4 separate regions of the Homo sapiens genome follow, and all the other regions are linked to region 2. The links are contacts of gene promoters, found by promoter capture Hi-C in blood cells and fetal thymus (Javierre and others, 2016). All regions are on one chromosome and are shown on one strand. Each heading gives the region's core, a stretch centred on a gene start or on the middle of the fragment in contact. The rest is flanking DNA. Distances are from core to core; before and after follow the strand shown. Region 1 overlaps ATOSA (atos homolog A). Region 2 holds the start of LEO1 (LEO1 component of Paf1/RNA polymerase II complex). Region 3 overlaps ATOSA (atos homolog A). Region 4 has its middle 6.4 kb from the start of ARPP19.

Evidence for each region. The method cuts DNA at HindIII sites, captures the fragments that hold promoters and counts their contacts. A CHiCAGO score of 5 or more calls a contact.
Region 1: a contact is called between a fragment that was not itself captured here and the fragment with the promoter of LEO1 in region 2, in 1 of 17 cell types (naive B cells). The highest score is 6.5, in naive B cells.
Region 3: a fragment that was not itself captured here is called in contact with the fragment with the promoter of LEO1 in region 2 in 2 of 17 cell types (total B cells and naive CD8 T cells); the score reaches 5.6 in total B cells.
Region 4: a contact is called between a fragment that was not itself captured here and the fragment with the promoter of LEO1 in region 2, in 1 of 17 cell types (naive CD8 T cells). The highest score is 5.3, in naive CD8 T cells.

The regions. Positions count from the first base shown.
Region 1 is chr15:52,608,933-52,611,632 of GRCh38, forward strand. It overlaps ATOSA (atos homolog A), which reads right to left. Exons shown (of 13, transcript NM_001385016.1): 4 at 2,643-2,700; 5 at 2,198-2,323; 6 at 1-1,451. Among named protein-coding and RNA genes, the nearest start is that of ARPP19, 41 kb to the left of the region's middle. The HindIII fragment of the contact is 1,261 bases long and covers 710-1,970 here.
Region 2 is chr15:51,970,447-51,973,146 of GRCh38, forward strand. It overlaps LEO1 (LEO1 component of Paf1/RNA polymerase II complex), which reads right to left and starts at 1,332. Exons shown (of 12, transcript NM_138792.4): 1 at 1,242-1,332. The coding sequence starts at 1,299. It also overlaps a transcript of MAPK6 not described here. RefSeq lists enhancers at 449-1,025, 849-1,378, 1,026-1,601. The HindIII fragment of the contact is 6,227 bases long and covers 1-2,073 here.
Region 3 is chr15:52,629,496-52,632,195 of GRCh38, forward strand. The region is part of intron 2 of ATOSA (atos homolog A); the gene reads right to left. Among named protein-coding and RNA genes, the nearest start is that of ATOSA, 49 kb to the right of the region's middle. The HindIII fragment of the contact is 4,403 bases long and covers 1-2,700 here.
Region 4 is chr15:52,574,123-52,576,822 of GRCh38, forward strand. No RefSeq gene overlaps it. Among named protein-coding and RNA genes, the nearest start is that of ARPP19, 6.4 kb to the left of the region's middle. The HindIII fragment of the contact is 4,599 bases long and covers 1-2,700 here.

The DNA.
Region 1 (2,700 bases), core at 90-2,589, 640 kb after region 2:
TTATTTTTTCCTTATACTTATTTGTACAAATCTGTTTGTCAATAGTGGTGCAATTTGAATACTGTTTATCAATTCCATTGCTCATTTCTTGCTCCTTGAATCTGCTTGTCAAATCTAAGTTATTTTCTTTGTGCTGAGACAAAATTGAGGAAGTTGATAAACTAGAACTTTTGTTCTGTGTCTCCTGATACGTACTTTGGATGATTTCACTAGGATTGTTCTGACACTGATTTCTTGTTTGATGTTTCAAAGAACACTTTTCTTTACTATTATTTTTAAAAGAAGTAAAACATTTATTAGGTACTAAGTTTTTCCCATCACTGATGTCTCCTAACAAGGAACATTTTGTGTGAGAAATGGAAACTGAGGACTCATCCTTATTTTTCTTCAACAAATTTTTGTCTTCATATGAACTCCTAAACACTTTAGATGCAACCGAACTGGAGTCATGCATGTTGAATGACTGCCGGGGGATATGTGATGCTGTTGGATCAATGTGCTCCAAGTGTTGAGCAATCCTTGCAATAACATCTTGCCGCTCCTGGAGTAAAGAGCCTATCAAAGGATTAGTCTCTCCAACAGGCATATGAGAATAAAAGTCATTAGAAATACAAGTTTCACTTCGAGGAGTTTCTGGTTTTAGTCGAATTTTCCCCTCATTGGTGTCTTCTGGGGAACTAAACTCTGGACTACCAAAAGTCATGGAGAAAGCTTCTTTACCTTTTCCCACGTTCTCATTTTCTTGTGAAACCCGGAAAAGTTTTGAATGGAGTGAACTAGACTCTTGAGTATTAAATGGACGTCCAGAAACATGTGAAGTGCTTGGATCACAATGAATCAAATGTTGGGCAATTCTTGCAATGATTTCTTGCCGCTCCTGAATTAAAGAGCCTATTAAAGGGTTAGTCTCACCAGCTGACTGCCAGAAACTCTGGCGGTTAGAGATACTGGAATCAACCATTGAAAATGATTTTAAAGTTCTCACTGATGTTTCTTGTGATTTTATATCACCTATACCACTAAAGCCTAGAATATTGGCTTGAGATGTCCCATGGTCAGATTTACTGCCAGTGCCTGGATATAGTTTGATATTTTTGACAGCTGCAGTATATTCTGGACTTGGGCCACTTTTTGCATGTAACACACTTTCAGGTGCCATGGTCCAAGTTTGTTTGCTACACAGACGCTGTGAACTGTTTGTACCACATTGTTCTGCTTCATTTGGGTTATGGTGCTGATGAGTTTTAAGTTTATGTTGTTGAATTCTTTTCTCATAAAGGCCAATATTAGTGTGAATACTGCACGTCAAAACTGGATAATTAGATTGTCTGGGCAAGGACTGAACACTGACTTTCAAGGCAACATTGTGAGAAACATTGGGAACAGGAAACACATGCTCAATTGGAGTCTGTGAAAAATTCCACTGTAGGTCTACATCAGCAGCACTGATTCTAGAATCACACAGAAAAATACTGTATTATTGGATTATAAAGGTTAGATCCTTATTATTGTATATTATTTTAAATGTAAAGCAGTCATACACTTATTTTTGTTTGCGTTAATTACCACTGAGGTTTACTTTTAGCCACTTTACCATGCATATAATTCTGATAAAACCAATGTAAGTGATATAATAGCTTATGCTTGGAAGAGATGATCTTTTTAAGAACACCAGATCACTTAAGCATTAAAGCTCAAGAATATTATAACTTAAAAATATTTGTTAAAACAGAAAAAAGGACTTTGTAATTGCTAGCACATAAATGGATTCAGCTAATTCCATTGTGCAAGGTGATTAAGAGACACCCTATCTCATGGCCATCTGCCTAAAAAGCCAGTTAGCTGTTTAGCAGCCTATATGTTTACATTATCCAAGATGCCAAAAATTAAGTCAAACATAAAAATTCAGCAGCTCAGAAAACTTTTCTACTTTATAATAGCAGCATTAAGTCCATTGGTTCTCTAAAGTAAGCTTAAAAGTTCTCTTGATATTATTCATACCAAATTTAATACAACAAACAAAATTCATATTGAGTCAATCCAAATCTCTCTAACTTGTTTTGAAAAACCTCAGTAAATTTTATCCACTTACATTTAGAATTGCAGGAAATAATCTATTTAAAAGGTAAAATGCCATTCGGTTGCTAACCAAGGTGGCTGAATACGCACTGTCCTTTTTTTTTGGCCCTAGACATACCTGTAGAGAATATTTCGTGGAATAGCACCATGAGAAACACTCAGCCATGCACTTAACTGAGAAAAAAACACAAATGAGCGGACAGCCAACAGAAGCGTCTTCTCTTCAATAAATCGGTCACCATTCCTAAGGAAGTAACAAAGCATAATTTAAATGTAGGCAAGTACAAAATGACTGAATTTTAGAATGGCAGAAGCTGAGATCCATAAACTTATCACTCAGGATTTGTGCTTTGAAGAGCATAGGAATACACTTACGATGTCACTTGAAGTCACAATTACTAAATGCAAGTACTATATTTACTCATTTTAGTGCCAAATATAAATACTATCTCAATTTTATTACATAGAGGAATTCAAAGACATGATACATTAAAATAATTTATAAGAAGTAATGGAAAACTTGATTTACCAAGAACAACTTTGAACTACGTTCAACAACTTACTGTCGAGGAACTGGCTCCAAGATCCATCTTTCTAATAATAATGCATCTTGCTTAATCG
Region 2 (2,700 bases), core at 82-2,581:
CCCAATGTCCATCAACAGATAAATGGATTAACAAATTTAGGGTGTGCACATTCAATGGAATATTATTAAATCATTAAAAATGAATAAAGTACTGATATGTGCTACAATGCCTTGAAGACATTATGCTAAGTAAAAGAAACCAGACACAAAAGACCACAATGCATGATTCAATTTATATGAAATTCCCAGAACAGATAAGTACAGAAACAATAGCAGACAGGGGTTGGAGGAAGGAGCATATGAGGAGTAAGTGCTTTATGAACAGTGTTTTATTTGGGGGTGATGAAAATAACAACTAGATATATGTTGTCTACAAGAGACTCACTTTACTTGGAGCCTAGAGGGTTGCAAGAATTCTGAACTTGGTCTTGGGTTCTCACTTCAAATAGCTCCTATTCATATTTCAAGTGCCCGTAGTCTCAACTACTTGGAGGCTGAGGCAGAAGGATGGCTTGAGCCCAGAAGTTCAAGGCCAACCTGAGCAACACAGTGAGACCCTGTCTCTAAAAAAGTAAACTTTAAAAAAACACCCACAATCCTGTGCCAGAAATAACTTCCAAGCAGCATGCACATACACTAATTCATTCATTTCATCAACAAATCCTTCATTCCTCCTCTCTGTACACAGACCCCATGCACTCCCCAATCTAACATCACAGACTCCGGAAATTCTGGAGTTTCTGCACAAGCTCTTAGAGAACACATTCTCTCCTATGTGAAACATCTATCTGTAACCCCATCCCATTATCCGTCCCAGACTCGTCATCCAGACATCTCAAGCTCCCTATCACACCATGCTCTGGTTTCATTCAAGACGGCATTCTGAGGCCCTCTGTAAATTCGCCCACCCCATCCCATATTCCTGCATTCATTTCCATTCATTCAAAAACAGCCCTTACTCTACGCTGGCCTGTGCAAGGCAAGGCGGAACAGGACTCCAACGTTCCTACCCGCGCTGCGCAGGCTCGCCTGCACTTCCACCCATGCCCCGCGCCCCTTTCGCTCCACAAGCTCCCAGGAACCGTCTGCTCCACCGACACCCAGAGCCTCGAGGCGCAGACTGTCTGACTCTCCATCCTGCCCGCCGGAGGAGGATGGCACCTCCGGGAGTGCAGGGGGCGCTGAGGCAGGAGTGGAGGAAACGCCACCTCTTGCCCGCGGCGCTGGAGCCTCCACGGTTGTCCGGCTCCCACAGCGGAAGGCCTGCCACGCACCCATCCTCCGAAGACCAGCGAACCCACCTTTACGCTCAGCTTCGCTGTCGGCGTCGCTCCCGAAGAGATCCTCCATATCCGCCATTATCGCTCACGTCCGCTGCTGCCTCGGTTAGGGGCAGCTCCCGGCCTCTCTTTACGGCACGGAACCACTGAAACACGACAGTGTCGCAAAGATTCGCCGAAGACACTCCTTTCCTTACGTGACCTAGTTTTCGCTCGCCCAGTGAACCTGTTCTCGCCTGGGTATGCATGGTATATAAGCCCGGCCATTTCGTCAATATCTGTTATTTGCCAGGATTCTTACCAGGGGGCGGGGGGGTCCTGCGTTCGGTTGCGGGTGTGGATGGGGTGGGCGGTGACTGGCGCTCTCTGGGGAAGGGCCTCTGGCTGGATTAAACCTATCGCGAGTCAGGATTGAAGCCCTTTGTTTCTTACTGAGCAGCTGTTCTCCAGTTATTTCATCCCAAACCCCTTTACCCTCTTAAAAATTGTTGAGACGGAGTCTCGCTCAGTCGCCCAGGCTGGAGTGCAGTGGCGCGATCTCGGCTCACAGCAACCTCCACTGTCCGGGTTCAAGCAATTCTAATTCCTCAGCCTCCCGAGTAGCTGGGACGACAGGCGCCCGCCACCACACCCGGCTAATTTTTTGTATTTTAGTAGACACGGGGTTTCACCGTGTTGCCCAGGCTGGTCGCAAACTCAGGAGCTCAGGCAATCCGCCCGCCTCGGCCTCCCAAAGTGCTGGGATTACAGGTACGGGTATTGATATTTACTGTATTCTTACTAATACGGTAATAAATTTTTAAGTTACTAATTCATTTAAAAATAATATACATGTTAACAAACAGCTTTTTTAAGCTTTAAATGACCATTTTTTTGGCCGGGCGCGGTCGCTCACGCCTGTAATCCCAGCACTTTGGGAGGCCGAGGCGGGTGGATCACGAGGTCAGGAGATCGAGACCATCCTGGCTAACACGGTGAAACCCCGTCTCTACTAAAATAAAAAAAATTAGCCGGGCGTGGTTGTGGGCGCCTGTCGTCCCAGCTACTAGGGAGGATGAGGCAGGAGAATGGCGTGAACCCAGGAGGCGGAGCTTGCAGTGAGCCGAGATCGCGCCACTGCACTCCAGCCTGGGCACGAGACTCCATCTCAAAAAAATAATAATAATAAAATAAAATAATTAAAAATAAAAACATTAGCCAGGCATGATGGCATGCATTTGTAGCCCTAGCTACTCAGGAAACTGAGAATGGAGGATCACTTGAGCCCAGGAGTTGGAGGCTGCAGTGAGCTATGATCACGCCACTTCACTCTAGCCTGAGTGACAGAGTAAGGCTCTGTTTCTTAGAAGAAAAAGTGAGAAAAGAGTACATCCTGTGTTACATTACCTAATTAGGCCATTATGAGAGTTTTGGTCTTGGACAAGCAACAATGAATATTTAGTTTGGAGATTATATGATATATATTTTTGTAGTAAACTTC
Region 3 (2,700 bases), core at 158-2,657, 660 kb after region 2:
TAAGGGTAGTTAAAAAAAAAAAAAAAGGCCAGGCATCGTGGCTCATGCCTGTAATCCCAGCACTTTGGCAGGCTGAGGAGGGCACATCATGAGCTCAGGAGTTCGAGACTAGCCTGGCCAACATGGTGAAATCCTGTCTCTACTAAAAATACAAAAATTATCTGGGCCTGATGGCGGGCACCTGTAATCTCTGCTACTCGAGAGGCTGAGGCAGCAGAATCGCTTGAACCCGGGAGGCAGAGGTTGCAGTGAGCTGAGATTGTGCCACTGCACTCCAGCCTGGGCAACAGAGCAAGACTCCATCTAAAAAAAATTAAAAAATAAAAAAAAAGAAAAGACTAGAAGGATAAGTAATTAAGAATTGAAATCAAAATGAAGACAGAATTGGGGAAGCAGCAGGGAGAAACAAAACAAATGAAGTAGAAACAATATACAGCAGGAAAATAAGACAAAAAACAAAAAATATTTGTATACAATAGAGTAAAATTAGAGCTAGAGGAAGTTCAACAGGTTAGGGCAGGACGTTGGTGGTGGTGGGGTACCTAAGGAAAGTCATTACTGTACTTTTGTTTCCTGTGTGTTCTGAACAAGTTCTTTTCCCAGACTCCCATCTTTCAAACATCCCAAAGTAGGCCTCCCTGTATTCCTCACATGTGTTCTACTAGCACTCCTATAAATATAGCTTAAAAGTAGCCCCAAATTTCTAAAAACTAATGTTCTACAACTTTGTTTCCCAAGTTGGTTGTTGAAAGTTCAGAGTTACTTGTCTTTATTAAACCACAGGCATTACGAAGGTTCCTATGGACTAAGGAAGATGAAGTGCTACACCAAAGGCACCACAGAGACTGAGAAGACATGCCAAAAACAAAGAAAATATTTGCAATGCAAATGCTGACAAAAGATGAATATCTAGAATATTTCACCTAAGAATCCTGAAAGGTTAATGAATATAAGATGTAGAACTCCTTAATCATTGCAAAATACAAATTAAAACTACAATTACATATGATTTCACATTCAAAGGATTGTGCAGGAAAATTGACTAAATATTGCTAAAGGTATAGAGCAACAGAAGTGGTCATACACTGCTAGTAAAGGTACACACTGGTGCAAACACTTTCAAAAATAACCTGGCATTACCTAGTTAAGAAGTACATACTCTACAACTCAATTACTCTCCTAGGTAAATAACCTAGAGAAAATCTTGTACATGTATGCTAGGAGACTAATATAAGAATGTTCAAAGAAGCACTGTCTATAACAACAAAATTTTGGAAAAAACAAGTGTTTATCGTCCATAGAATGAATGCTGTGATACACTCATATAATGGGATACAGGAGTAAACGTAAGTACAAGAATAATAACCTACAGCTACATACAGGTTGTAGAACACTATAGGATGATTCTATTTGCATAAAAGTTTAAAAAACAAGCTAAACAACATAGTTTATGGTTATATATGTGATAAAATATTTTAAAAGAGACAACACAGAATTCAGAACAGTGGATATTTTGGGGATGTACCTGAGGAGAGGAACACAGGAGTCAGCACACAAGGTTCTGCTTCTCAAGCTGAGTAGCAACTGCATGGGAGGTCATTTTGCTGTTCTCTAAACCATCTTTAATGTATATGCTCTTTGTAGCTATGATATGCTTCATAATTTTAAAAAATTCACATTGTCTCATGTATGACAAAATAAACCTGTTTTTAAAATTTCAGCATGTATGTGGAAAACTGAAGTCTGGGAATTCTGCACATCTCACTCTTGCCTAGGTCTCACTGTTTGTAAGGTGGTACTAGTTAGTGAAAAATAAGCACTGTGCTGGATTTCATGAGGTCCACATTCTCCCATATTAACCTCTTTTGTTCTAGGTTACTTTAACTATCAAAGTACACCACTTCTTAAAAAAAGTCTTCCAACTTTAAGATTTTATGAGTTGATGAAAATATTAAGGTGAAGAATTATGGTATAAAGGGAAAAAAGACAATATTCAACTTACAATATTGTTCAACTTTCCAAAGGATACAGAGCTGATAAATCCAAGTAATAGGACAAACACCTACGCCTATGTGTTATGGCAAATTAGTTTGCCATATATATATAATTTCTAGAATGCATTTTACATTTTTTAATGTAAGAAACAAGTTTTAAAGCAAGCAACATATCTCGAATTTAACACTCAAACTGAAAGCTACTGACGAAAAGTTAGATTTCCTCGTTGGCTGGACAAATAACTAAAGTGTTCTAAAACACAATGCTAACCCAAGAAATTGCATGGTTCAAAGTGTGTTTTGAAATTGAATAGGCAGTCCCATTGTAACCTCAAACTCCTGGACTCAAGTGATCCTTCTACCTCAGGCTCCCAAGTAGCTAGGACTACAGGAATGCGCCATCATGCCCAGCTATTTTTTTAAACTTTTCTGTAGAGACAGGAGCCTTGCTATGTTACCCAAGTTGGTCTCAAACTCCTGGCCTCAAGCGATCCTCCAGCTTCAGCCTCCCAAAGTGCTGGGATTACAGGTGTAGGCTGACAGTGCTGGGATTACATTGCACCTGACCAGACAGTATTTCTTAAATAAGTTTTCCTTCATTATAGGAAGGTAGCTGTATACCCATTAACTAAAAACATCTTAAAGTGGAAAAGACTAATTTCATCTGAATTTTAGTTCATGATACTGTTCAAAAGTTACAGTGCCT
Region 4 (2,700 bases), core at 110-2,609, 600 kb after region 2:
GTGACTGAATTACTGCAATATCATGATAAAATTTGAATGGATGAAGAGTTGCTTCTTATGGATGAGCAAAGTAACTGGTTTCTTGAGATGGAATTTACTCCTGATGAAGATGCTGTGAATGTTGTTGAAATGACAACAGAAACTTCATTTGTATTCATTACCAACCTCTCTTCATCCTCCTCTCCCCTCTTCCTTCGCAGCTTCTGGTAATCACCATTCCTCTCTCTATCTCCATGAGATCCACTTTTTTTAGCTCCCATATGAGTGAGAACATGCTACATTTGACTTCCTCTGACTTTTATTTCACTGAACATAATGACCCCAAATTCCATCCAGTTGCTGCAAATGACAGAATTTCATTCTTTTTTATGGCTGAATAATATTCCATTATGTATGTATACTACATTTTCTATACCTATTCATCCATTGATGGACACCTAGGTTGACTCCATATCTTGGCTATTGTGAATAGTGCTTCAGTAAACATGGGAATGCAGATATCTCTTTGACACACTGATTTCCTTTCTTTCTTTTTTTTTGAGAGAGAGTCTCACTCTGCCAACCCAGGCTGGAATGCAGTGGCTCACTGCAACCTCTGCCTCCTGGGTTCAAGCGATTCTCGTGCCTCAGCCTCCCGAGTAGCTGGGATTACAGGATGCATCACCACACCTGGCTAATTTTTAGACAGGGTTTCACCATGTTGGCCAGGCTGGTCTCCAACTCCTGATGACCTCAAGTGATCCATCTACCTTGTCCTCCCAAAGTGCCAAGATTACAGGCATGAGTCACTGCACCTGGCCAAGGATCTGAATTCTTTTCTTTTTTTTAATTAACATTTTTTTTTTGAGACAGAGTCTCACTTGGTTGTCCAGGCTGGAGTGTAGTGGTGTGATCTTGGCTCACTACAACCTCTGCCTCCCAGGTTCAAACAGTCCTCCTCAGCCTCCCAAGTAGCTGGGATTACAAGTGTGTGCCACCACGCATAGATAATTTTTGTAGTTTTTTGTAGAGAGAGTCTCACTGTGGTGTCCAGGCTGGTTTTGAACTCTGAGCTCAAGTGATCTGCCCACCTCGGCCTCCCAAAGTGCTGGGATTACAGGCCTGAGCCACTGTACACAGCCATATGTCTTCTTTTGAGAAATGTCTAGTCAGGTCTTTTGTGCATTTTAAAATTGGATTATTTGGGTTTTTTTTTTTTGCTATTGTTTGGGTTGCTTATATATTCAATCTCTTGTTTGATGGAAGTTTGCAAATGTTCTTTGTAGCTTCTCTTCTCTTCACTTGTTTACTCTGCTATGCAGAAGATTTTTAGCTTGATGTAATCCCACTTGTCTATTTTTGCTTTTGTTGCCTGTGCTTTTTTTTTTTTTTTTTTCTTTTTGAGATGGAGCCTTGCTCTGTCACCCAGGCTGGAGTGCAATGGTGCGATCTCGGCTCACTGCTATCTCCGCCTCCCGAGTTCAAGCAATTCTCCTGCCTCAGCCTCCCGGGTAGCTGGGATTACAGGCAGGCACCACCACACCTGGCTCATTTTTGTGTTTTCAGTAGAGATGGGGTTTCACCATGTTGGTCAGATTGGTCTTGAACCCCTGACCTCAGGTAATCCACCCACCTTGGCCTCCCAAAGTGCTGGGATTATAGGCGTGAACCATCGCGCCCGGCCTGTTGCCTGTGCAACACCTGTTGAGGTGTTACCTAAAAAGTCTTTGCCCGGACCAATGTCCTGGAGCATTTACTCAGTGTATTTTTTTAGTAGTTTCAGGTCTTACATTTAAATCTCTAATCCATTTTGACTTGATTTTTGTATATGGTGAAAGATAAGGATCTAATTTCATTCTTCTGCATATGGATATCATTTTCCCAGAACTGTTTACCAGAGAAACTGTCCTTTCTGCAGTGTATGTTCTGGGCACCTTTGTCAAAAATGGGTTGGCTGTATATTTGTTTCTGGGTTCTTTATTCTGTTCCTTTGGTCTATGTGTCTGTTTTTGTGCCAGTACTATTCTGTTTTGGTTACTATAGTTTTGTAGTACAATTTGTGTAGTATAGAAATTTTAACAATATTAACTGTTCCAATCCATGAGCAAGGGATAGCTTTACATTTTTGTGTGTGTTCTCTTCAATTTCTTTCATCAGTGTTTTATAAATTTCCTCATAGAGGTCTTTCACTTCTTCACTTAAATTTATTCCTAGGTATTTTACTTTTTTTGTAGCTATTGTAAATGTAATTGCTTTCGTTTTCAGATTGATTGCTACAATAAAATATTTTAAAATATTACATAAACTTAGCTCATAAAGCAGTGGAAAGATTTGAGAGGACTGACTCCAGTTTTGAAACCAGTTCTATTGTGGGTATGTAAAATGCTATCAAACAGCATTGCATGCTACAGAGAAATCTTGCGTGAAAGGAAGAGTCAATTGATGAGAAACTTCATTGATGTTTTATTTTAAGAAATTCTCACAGCCACTCCAACCTTCAGCAACCACTATCCTGACCAGTCAGCAGCCATCAACATCCAGGCAAGATCCTCCACCAGCAAAAAGATTATGACTCCTTGAGGGTTCAGATGATTGTTAGTATTTTTTAGCAATAGATTATTAATTTTTTTTTTTTAGAGATAAGGTGTCACATTGTCACTCAGGCTGGAGTTCAGAGGTGCCATCATAGCCCACTGTAACCTTGAACTCCCGGGCTCAAGT